Linked DNA regions of Homo sapiens: region 1 is linked to region 2. Evidence: promoter capture Hi-C in 16 types of primary human blood cells and fetal thymus (Javierre and others, 2016). All regions are on one chromosome and are shown on one strand. The core of a region is centred on a gene start or on the middle of the fragment in contact, and the rest is flanking DNA. Distances in the headings are between cores, read along the strand shown. Region 1 holds the start of LOC124905115. Region 2 holds the start of CDC42EP1 (CDC42 effector protein 1).

Region 1 (5,102 bases), core at 385-2,884, 190 kb before region 2:
GTATGGATCCCTGATTCAGGGCACGGGGGCCAGGGGAGGAGGGTGTGAGGTGGGTACAGGAGGAGCACCAGCTGAGAGCAGGCTGAGGTCTGCATGGCAGCCAGGATGAACTCAATGAACACTATTAATGGTGATCATAGCCTCCTCTCTGCTCTAAAAGCTTTCATGGCTCTCTATTGCCCCTGTCCAAGCCCTAGCAGTGAGGCCCTCCTCCCCAGACCCCTTCCCTACGCTCTTGCTACTTCTCAAACATGACCACCCGTTTCTGTCCACACTGCTGTCTCCTCGCTAGTCCATCTCCACCTGACAAGGCCCTATAATCACAGGAGGACACCTCCCTCAGGAAGGCTGCTGCCACCAGCAGGGATGTGCTGTCCATCTTCCAAGCACCCCACACGCTGCTTCCGGCAGCCTTACCCTTGCTCAGCACGTGCTGCCCCCAGGACAGGCAACTGTGAAAGAAAGCTGGAACGGACCTGGATACAAATTCTGGCTTAGCCTGGGACTCACTGAGTTACCTGGGGCATGACACTTCACCTCGCCACACCTTGGTTTCCTCATCTGTTTGATTAAGATGTTACTACCAACCTTCAAGGATCAAATCTGGTAACGTGAAAGCACCCGGCTGAGGGCCGGGCAGGCACCCGGTGGGCAAGGCAACTTCTCTCCTCCTGGCCCCAGGACACTGACTCAGCTCCTCCCCCCACATCCCTTCTGCTCCTGACAGAAAAGGGGAGGCTGCTGACGACAGGAAGGGCCAGCAGGGAGGTGGCAGGATGTCCAGGAGGACGCCGAGGAAGTCCAGGCCATCACACTCACAGGGCAGGGGCTAGGCGTGCCACGCCCCCCAGCAGCCCAGCCCGCCCCCAGCAGCCCACCCACTCCTCCGCAGGGTCTCCACTCCCCTGAAAGAGGCCTACTGCCGCCTGTGCACACACACACCCTGCTCATCCTCCCCCAGGAGGGCCACTGGGCTGTCAGAGCCTCCCTGAAGCACTAGCCAGAAACCAAAAGCAGCCCCACCCCTCCCTTCCCGAACATCACGGTCAGTGGGCCAGAAGGACAGGGAAAGGAGCTACTCCTTCTCTTATACTTGGGGTGACCTCGGGCAACTCACCAGCGCCCCTCCCCAAGCCTCAGTTTATCTGGCTGTGAAGTGGGGAGTCCAGCGAACCCAGCTGTGAGGCTCAATATGCTAACTATGGCACAGGTAATTGATGGGGCTTGGGTACAGCTCACCCCCATGAGAAAGGCAAACCCCTGCCATCATGCCCCCTACTCAGACTCGCAGGCTTGTCCCAAGGCCCCAGGACCGCTGCAAAGTGCAAGCCCAGGAAGACGTGGTATCCCGCTGCTTCAGACGTCCCGGGACTGCCTCCCGGGCTGTGGGTGGGGCGGTCCGGCCACTTCTCGCCCACCCGACCTCGGGCCAGCGGCCACACGGAGGGCTGGCTTGCCCAGGCCCGGGTCAGCGCGACCCATCCGCACCCACGAGCGCCCCTCCCCAGCCCAGGCCCACCTCCGCTCCTCCCTGGGGCCCCTGGCCGCCTTGGGGAATCGGGTCTTCGTCTAGGGGGCTGGAGGGGAGGTGGGAAAGGGTCGCCCCGAATCCACCCGTGACTGGTGCCGCAAGTGTGAGGAGGGGGCGCCCGAGACGGGTCGTTCCGTCCCCTCAGGGTCGCCTGGGCTCCCGGGGGCGAGTGGGCGAGGGAAGGCGAGGAGGAGCCTGCGGGAAGGGTGAGGCCGGTCTGGCCGAAAGCGCTTCGGAGGTGGCCCCGTCTTCCGGCCCAGCCCTCCTCTCGCCTTCGGGAAATGAGGAGGGGGCTGCCCCGGAGGGGAGAGGCTGGGCTCTGCCTCGGGTCGTCGCCCTTCTCCCGGCCTCGGGCGCGGGCGGCTGACTGGGGCACTCACCGTCATGGCGGCGCCCCAGGGCGGCGGGAGCAGGAGGCAGGAACGTGGACGCGGCTCTCGGGCCGGGCTCCGCGGCGCGGGAACCCCGCCGCCGCCGCCGCCGCCGCCCCTCTCGGCCGCCCGCCGCCGCGCCTCCGGCCCTTCCTTTCCCCGACGCTGCCCCGGCCCCTTCCATCCGCCCATAAAACTTTTTTTTTTTTTTTTTCAAACTTCCTGGGAGGACCCGAGCGGGCCAATGGGTGGCGGGGAAGCCGAGACAAACAGCGGCGGGGGCCGCGGCGGGCCAATGGAAGCGCGAGACGGGCCGGGGGCGGGACCTGCCGCAACGGGACGGGCGCGCTAGGGCGGCGGGGCGGCGGGACGGCGGGACGGCGGGGTGGGCGGATGGGGCCGCAGGGAAGGGAGGGCGGTGGCGGCCGGAGGGCGGGCGGGCCCGGGCCGCGGGCGCGCTGGGAGGAAGGAAGGGCCCAGGGTGCAGGTGACTCCGGCAATGGCGCGGGGGCGGAGGATGCGGGCGGCCGGGCGTGGGCACGACTCGCCCAGGCTGCGCTTCCCGACCCGGCCCCGGAGCGATGGGTCCGCTAGGGCTCGGCGCCGTGATTTGGCGGGGACCGGGGCAAAGCACCCAGTACTAACGACTCAGCGGGTCCCACTCGCCAAGAGTCGATTTTCGTCCTCACCACAGACTTGGGAGGGAGGTCTTATTTTGCTAATGAGAAAACGGAGGCTCAGAGGGGTGAGCCGATTTGCCCGAGGTCACACAGGAAGAGGCGGAATTCCTAGCGAGTAAGCTGGACACAAAGTGAGTTCTTGGATGGCAGGGTCTCTCCCAAATGCCCACTCCTCACAAATGGGTCTTTTTTGGTTTGGGGTTTTTCAGGTGTGGGCGTGCACCCGTTGCTCAGGTTCCCAGAACGCTGGGCCGTTTGTTAGATGCTCTTTTCCTGCAGGTGAGTAGGGACCGTGGTGGAATTGGTTGCTAAATGCACTAGGAAGTTCGTGTGGCACGGGGATTCCAGCCTAGTGTTACCTTAAGCAAGGCACCTCTCGGTGCTCAATTTCACTCTCTGTAAAATGGGGTAATGCTGTTACCTCATGAGGTTGCTGGAAGGATTAAGTGTTAATTCAAGTAAGGCACCTAGGACAACCTCTTTATCCCTCATTAGCTATCCTTAGGCAAGGAGGCAGGGAAGCTTGGAATAATTGGCATTTCAATTATTCTGTCATCTTGATTTGGGGTTCAAAAATTATTGCCCTTGCCGGGCGCGGTGGTTCAGGTCTGTAATCCCAACACTTTGGGAGGCTGAGGTGGGTGGATCATTGAGATCAGGAGTTCAAGAGCAGACTGGCCAACATGGTGAAACCCCGTCTCTACTAAAAATACAAAAATTAGCCGGGCGTGGTGTCAGGCGCCTGTAATCCAGCTATGTAAAAGGCTGAGGCAGGAGAATCGCTTGAACCCGGGAGGCAGAGGTTACAGTGAGCAGAGATTGTGCCACTGCACTCCACCTTGGGAGACGGAGCGAGACTCCCTCTCAAAAAAAAAAATTATTGCTTTTATAATTACTGTTCCCATTTTGCAGATAAAGAAATGGAGGCCCAGGGAGCTGAAGTTCTTTCCCAGCATTTGCTGCCAGGAGTCTCTCCACCATGAGGAATGAGGCCAAGGTTAAGTCCATCTAACTCTAGAAACTGGCCTTCTGGCACCCCGGGCTGAGTTTTCTCACCCTACCCTTGCACCTCACTCAGGCAGTCAGTCCTTGGGAGAGTGAATGAACACGCAGGAGACCTCACCTACCACCAGGGTCCTGGTCCAGTGCCCTGGGCACCTAACAGCACCAGCCTCCTCCAGGCTTTTCTGGCCCCTGCGACTCCTCCTAGTACCCGCAACACAGTGACCAGACCACTTCCCTGCTCAAAGTTCTTCCACACATCACCAATGCTGACAGATCAGTGCTACATTCCTCTTCTAGGCAGTCAGGAACCATCACAACCTGGCTCCTGCCTGTCATCCTGGCCTTCCAGATTCTCATTTGACAGGCTGGAGAGACACATACTTTGGTCAATTTTGCAAAATACAATAAGTAAATAAAGAGATGCACAGCACTGGAGGCTGGGCGCGGTGGTTTATGCCTGTAATCTCAGCACTTTAGGAGGCCGAGGCGGGTGGATCACCTGAGGTCAGGAGTTCGAGACTAGGCTGGCCAACATGGTGAAACCCCGTCTCTGGTAAAAATACAAAAAATTAGCCGGGCGTGGTGGCACATGGCTGTGATCCCAGCTACTTGGGAGGCTGAGGCAGGAGAATCGCTGGAACCTGGGAGGCGTAGGTTGCGGTGAGTGAAGATCACACCACTGCATTCCACTCCAGCCTAGGCAACAGAGCGAGACTCCATCTCAGAAAAAAAAAAAAAAAAAAAGATACACAGCACTGGACTACTAGGAATTCCCAGGATAAGACAGGTCCTTCTACCCCCTGATGGTTCTCTGCTGTGCCTGGAACACTTCTCTTCCTGTCTTCTGTACCCCAGCACACACACACACACACACCCAGCACACACTCACACACACCCAGCACACACACACACACACACACACACACACACACACACACACACATTCTCTCTCTCTTTCTCCCCTTCCCCCTCCCAATGCTTGTTGGCCTGGAAAATTTCTTCCTTGAAGTCTCAGACCAAAGGAAGCCAAAGTGTCCCCAGCAGACTTAGGAACTGCTGGCCCAGTGCTCCCTACATCTGTACCTTTCCCCACTAAAGTGGTGACCACACTGTTCTCATCAGTTACATGTCAGTGTCCTTACCTAACTGGGCTCCAGTGGCCAGGGCTGGAATGTTTTTTGTCTACATCTTGGAAACCAGCCTAGGGCCTAAGCCCACAGCACATCCTCCGTAAGCACGGCTCGAATGAATGAATGCACCAATGAAGAAACCACAACTCATCCTGGCAGGTCAGAGACAGCACAGCCTCAGGGACCCAGGGGTGAGTTATTAAACTGGCAAAGACCAGAGCTACCAAACTTCGAGGTTATCCAGTCTCAAACCGTTACTCTACTGAGAATAATAAGGTAAGGCTCAGAGAAGGGCACACAAGTTAGGTGCCAAGCCAGAACTCGACTCCAGGCTTTCTGGCTCTTGGCCTTGGGCTAATTTCACTGCTTCAGCCCAAGAGAAGTT
Region 2 (5,425 bases), core at 2,178-4,677:
GCCAGCTGAATCACAGATCTCCATGATAACCTGCATGCCAAAACATCACCCTGGCCCCTTCTGAGAGTGGGAGGGCAGGCTGGGCTCTGTGTCCTCACAATGTGACCTTGGGCAAGTCACTTACCTACACAGACCTGGGACCTCAGCTGATAAAAGTCAATAATGATCCTTAAGAACACCTATGTCTGCGGCTCAGCCTTCTTCCTTTTTTAAAACCATTGCTGCCACCTCCAAGCATAGAAATCTCAATACTGCCCTTCTAATGTTATTTGAAATTCAAAATAGGTTAAATAACAAGATAAGAACAAAGAAGCCAATAGGACAAAGCTTGCTTTGTTTTCTGACTACATTCTCTTCCCTTCCCACCATCTGATCCTCCCCCAACCCTAACTCCTCCCCCTCGTGGGGGGGAACTTCTGAATCATCTTCTTCCCTCCCTGGCACCCCCGGCACCGAGAAGTCCTCGTGGAATGTTTGCTGAAGTTCTGAAGCGATCCACAGTTGGCCAACCATTACATGATGTCATCTGATTCTCCAACAACCCTGCAAAGCCGCAGCGTGGCCTATTTGACAGGCAGCACTGAGGTTCGGAGGGAAGGGAGACCTGTCCAAGGTTAAGTGACAGGTTCATGGCAGGGCCAAGTTTCCCTGCTCAGCAGGGATTAAGGATGCATCTCTGGGGGAAGGAATGGGAGCGGGAAGGGTGTTCCTCTGTACAATGTCCTGTAGAAGGGTCTGCCATGTGGCCTTACCCACTTGCTCCCACCCCAGCTCCCTGACTTTTTTTTTTTTCTTTTTTGAGGCAGGGTCTCACTCTGTCACCCAGGCTGAGTGCAGTGGCTCCATCACAGCTAACTGCAGCCTCGAACTCCCAGGCTCAAGCGATCCTCCCACCTCAGCCTCCTGAGTAGCTGGGACTACAGGCACATACCACCATGCTCAGCTAAGTTTTTCCACTTTTTGTAAGGACAGGGTCTCACTCCATTGCCCAGGTTGGTCTCAAATTCCTGAACTCAAGCCATCCTGCTGCCTCAGCCTCCCAAAGTGCTGGGATTACAAGTGTGAACCACCACACCTGGCCTCCCTGACTTCTTGAGGCAGCACCTCATCTCCCAGCAAAAGGGGCTCCTCCCCCCTGAACCCCCATGGTCACTTTTGACTTGGGGGACCAGCTTCCTCCCCAATCTTGCGATGATCCCATCTTTCAAATGTTTCTGGGCACCCCCCCAATAGTACCCACCCCTCACACTACCCTGCCTACTGCGGTCGAGAGACTCTGCAGCGCTGTGGAGCTGAGGGCAGGGTATTGGGACCCGGTCTTCCCATGTGGAAAACGGAACAGCACACCAGGCAGTTCCCCTCCCAGGGGAGTTGCAAGGGTAGAAAATGTAATGAAACCCTCAGATACTGGAGCAGGGCAGCCATGGGTTCAAATCTGACACCTTTACACTAACATCTCTCATTCCAGGGACCCCGGTGGCAGCCACGTGGCACTTGCTGCCAACCACAGGGCACTGCTGGCCATCAGGTGTGCCTCACCTGGCACTGGAGTAAGCAGGGCTCCAAGTGTCCTGGTGCCAGGCTCACCTCCCCTCACCTGCTCAGGAACACCGCCCGTTAGTGTTCAGAACACCCCTTTCACAGATGGAAAAAACGAAGCTCAGAAAGGAGACATTTACCCTCAGTCACAGACCAACATTGCTGGTAAATGCCCCAGGGTGGGGGTGAAGACGATGGGGAATGGGGAAGACGATTTGGAGGGCTTGGATGCCCAGTGCTGAGCCCGGTGTGGGGTGCAGGTGCAGGCCTGGGAAGACAGGAGACCCAGCTCTGCAGATTCACTGCCTGTGACCTGGGCAAGGAGGTCACCACACAGCCTCAGTGTCCTTGGAGTCCTTATATTTACCCTATAGAGGATAGTCAGGGCCTGGGCACATGGCCTGAGCTCACTCAATGGTGGGAATGACGCAAGAACAAGTTTTGGAGCCGGGATCGGGCCAACAGGGGTCGCTGTGGAGGCACATGTGGTCGCGGGGAGGCCAAGGGCGGGTCTGAAGGAGAGCGGGGGCGGCTGCACCCTGGCATTCACCTGGGGGTCACCCGCAGGCCGCAGTGCTGGCCAGGGGCCCACGTCTCATCCTGGAGGCCACTGCTCGGGTGCACACAGCCCACTTCCTGCGGGCATCCAGCTGGGTGACGCCCCCCCCCACCGCTGGACAGCGGGTCCCTGTCATGGTTACGGCAGCTCCCCCAAACCTGCTCTGGTCCCTGGAATAAGGGGTTAAACCGGTCGGCTGACTTCTCCTGCTCCTCAAAGTCCAGACGCTTCAAGGTGGAGAGACGGGGAAACTGAGGCCAGAACGGGGTAGCTAGTTGTTCGCAGTCGCGCTAGGGGACCCGGTCCTCCGTATTCCAAGGGGGGCACCGTGGGCCATTAGGGAGCGACGGGGAAAGTGGAAAGGAGACGCGCTTCGTGCCCACCGCCCCGAGTTAGAGCCGAACCAGCCCGGGACCGAGCGAGACGGAGCGGCTGCGGGCCGCGTCTCGGGTCCCCGCGCCACGTTTAGTGCCGCTGCGGCCTCCCGGCCAGTCCCCCCTACTCTCTAAGCCTCAGTTTCCCGGTCTAGGAAAAGGGCTTCGAATGTTGCGGGTCTGGCACTGCTGGGGCAAAGGCAGAACAATCTGGAGGGCGGCCGGGATTGGAAGTCCGGGAAAGACTTCGGCCATCCAACATTCCCTGGGGGGACGGGGCTCAGGACGCGGAGGGTCGCTCCGCGGGGGAAGGGGACGACCGGCTGTCTTGGCCGGAGGGGAACCGGACGGGATGACCTCATCCGCGGCTCCAGCCTGGAATGCGGCGGTCGGGGAGGGGGGCAGGGTGCCTGTCCATCTCCCCGGGCCCCCCACCCCCCACTTCCCGCTCTCCGCGTGGGCCTCGGCGGAGGGGAGACATTCCGCCGCGTCGCCCGCTGCCCGCCCCGGCCCTTCCTTCCCCCGCGCAGGAAGGCGCGGAGACAGCCCCCGCTCTGCCCCTCGGCTCGCCCCCTCCTCGCGCATTTTGGCCGCTCAGCCGTGTCCGATCCTCTGCCCCCTCCACCAGCCTGGAACGGGACACGAAGCCCGAAAGCTCGGAGTTTCCTCGCGCGGCTCCGCGGCCGCGCCCGGCCTTCCTGTGGGCACCCGGGGGCGCCTCTCCCGGGCGGGTCCCGTCCCCGTTCCGGCCCCGGGAGCCTAGTAGGGTGCAGAGTCCCCGCGGGCGCCGGGACCCGCCGGCCTCCACGGCCTCCGCCCCGAGGACCCGCGCGCCCGGGCTGTTACCTGGCTCCGCGAGCCCCGGGGGCGCGGGACGAGGGCGGACTCGTCGTCTGCAGCGGCGGCGGCCGCGCGTCCCGGCTGGCAGCCCGGGAGAGTCGCTGGGCCGGTCTGCGCCGCCCTGGCCGCGGGCTCCGCGGGCTGGATCCGGGGGCGGGGGCGGGGTGTGGGCGCTCCCGCCTCCCGCCCGTCTCCTCCCGCCCGCGGGCGGGGCCCGGCCCCCTCCCCGGCCCCCTCCCCGGCACCGTCCTCGCGGCCGCCGAGAGCTGGCAGGGACGCGGCTGGGGGGCCAGGCCAGGCCTCTGCTCGCCACCCCGGACAAGGCCAGCCGGGGAACGTGCGGGCTGCCCCGGGGAGGCGACTCCGGTCCCCGGCCGCCAACCCCTCTTCCACCGGTTCCCCTCGTGGCCTTGCTTGGGGCGTCCAGGCCTGATGAACTCTCCTCCCTCCTGGGCCCTCCAGCCGCGCCCTGCGGGAGTTCGGGGAACCGGGAAGCTCGATCTGAGGCCTTGAATGCCTGGGCCTTTAAACCTTGATGTTTACAGGCATGACATGCCCACTCCTTTGCTCCCCATTCTCATTCCCTTCCATCCGGTACAGGCCCCGCGGTGCCCAGGAGGAAGACAGCCATACTGGGGCGACTGGTAGAGTGGGGTAGAGTGGCCGTCAAGACCGGGACCCTGGAGCCGGACAGCCTGGGCTCCTGTCCTGCCTCAGTCACTACTTACCTTTCTCTGCCTCAGTTTCCTGATCTGAAAGTGGGATAGATAATAGCAGCATCAGATGTTGTGTGAAGTGTTTCCTGCTCCAAGAGCACCTAGGAGGCTTGCTCGGCAGGTAAATGAAGTCGCATCTCAGAGACTTTACAGACCCTCCCCCCACCCCGCCCACCTCCATGGAGGGCAGGGAATCAGCCATACCCGGGACCCTGTGCCATCCTCAAGGAGGGGAGATAGATCTCTGGCCCCTGCCTCCCGTTGTTGTGCCCTCCTTTGACTACTCCCATCTGACTATAGAGTCCTCGGGCTGTCAGGGCACAGAGAGGTCCCTAATACTTCCTGCAGGGCCTGGGGGCTCAGGAAATCTTCCTAGAGGAGATGATACCTGAGTTAAGTCTCTCTCTCTCTCTTTTTTTTTTTTTTTTTTTTTTTTTTTTTTTTTTTTTTTTTTTTGAGACGGAGTCTCTCTCTGTTGCTCAGGCTGGAGTGCCATGGCATGATCTCAGCTCACTGCAGCTTCCACCTCCCGGGTTCAAGCGATTCTCCCTCCTAAGCCTCCGGACTAGCTGGGATTACAGGCACCCACCCACGCCCGGCTAATTTTTGTATTTTTTAGTAGAGAGGGGGCTTCACCATGTTGGCCAGGCTGGTCTTGAACTCCTTACCTCAGGTGATCCGCCTGCCTTGGCCTCCTCAAGTGCTAGGATTATGGGTGTGAGCCACTGCATGGTTGTGAGTTAAGTCTTAAAGGACGTGTAGGCAGAGGGAAGGGCAGTGGAAATGCACAGTGCACAGCTGGCAAGGGACAGCACAGCAAAGGCTGGGAGTGGAGGACCCTGCAGCGGAGGCAAACCCGGCTGAAGGAGACTGGCTGAGCGCTGTTGTGGCCGGGGATGAGGAGCTGTATTTACCCGCAGGTGGAGGAGACAAGGTCTTTACTGTTCACCCAGGGGCTAGGCCTCTTCCACTGGCTCCCTGAATCCCCATGCTGGCCACCAAGGGAAGGAGCTATTTCTGCAGCTGGACAAATGAGGAAACAGAGGCACAAAGCATTCTAGCATTTGCTCAAGTGGCACAGCAGTAGGAACTCTTTCCCTGGGGGCCGGCCCAGGAGTATTTTGTCCCATGGAGAACTGGAACAGCATCAGGACAGTGAGCCAGCAGGCAGCACTGGCAGGTGTACATTTAGAAGACTGACTGTTGCCCGGCGTGGTTGCTCACGCCTGTAATCCCAGCACTTTGGGAGGCTGAGGTGGGCAGATTACTTGAGGCTGGGAGTTTGAGACCAGCCTGACCAATATGGTAAAACTCCGTCTCAACTAAAAATACAAAAATTAGCCAGGCGTGGTGGCGGGTGCCTGTAATCCCAGCTACTCGGGAGGCTGAGGCAGGGA

The links. Contacts are between HindIII fragments. The CHiCAGO score rates a contact against its expected background, and 5 or more counts as called.
Region 1: a fragment that was not itself captured here is called in contact with the fragment with the promoter of CDC42EP1 in region 2 in 1 of 17 cell types (endothelial precursors); the score reaches 5.2 in endothelial precursors.

The regions. Positions count from the first base shown.
Region 1 is chr22:37,743,230-37,748,331 of GRCh38, reverse strand. The region is part of intron 11 of TRIOBP (TRIO and F-actin binding protein); the gene reads right to left. It overlaps LOC124905115, which reads left to right and starts at 1,033. Exons shown (of 3, transcript XM_047441691.1): 1 at 1,033-1,210. The coding sequence starts at 1,193. It overlaps LOC102724378 (a long non-coding RNA gene), which reads left to right and starts at 2,388. Exons shown (of 3, transcript NR_160697.1): 1 at 2,388-2,713; 2 at 2,792-2,861; 3 at 3,495-4,022. RefSeq lists silencers at 1,329-1,438, 1,659-1,888, 2,229-2,528. The HindIII fragment of the contact is 2,944 bases long and covers 163-3,106 here.
Region 2 is chr22:37,558,482-37,563,906 of GRCh38, reverse strand. CDC42EP1 (CDC42 effector protein 1) reads right to left here and starts at 3,427. Exons shown (of 3, transcript NM_152243.3): 1 at 3,319-3,427. RefSeq lists enhancers at 1-442, 970-1,576, 1,879-2,108, 1,577-2,184, 2,185-2,791. The HindIII fragment of the contact is 15,994 bases long and covers 330-5,425 here.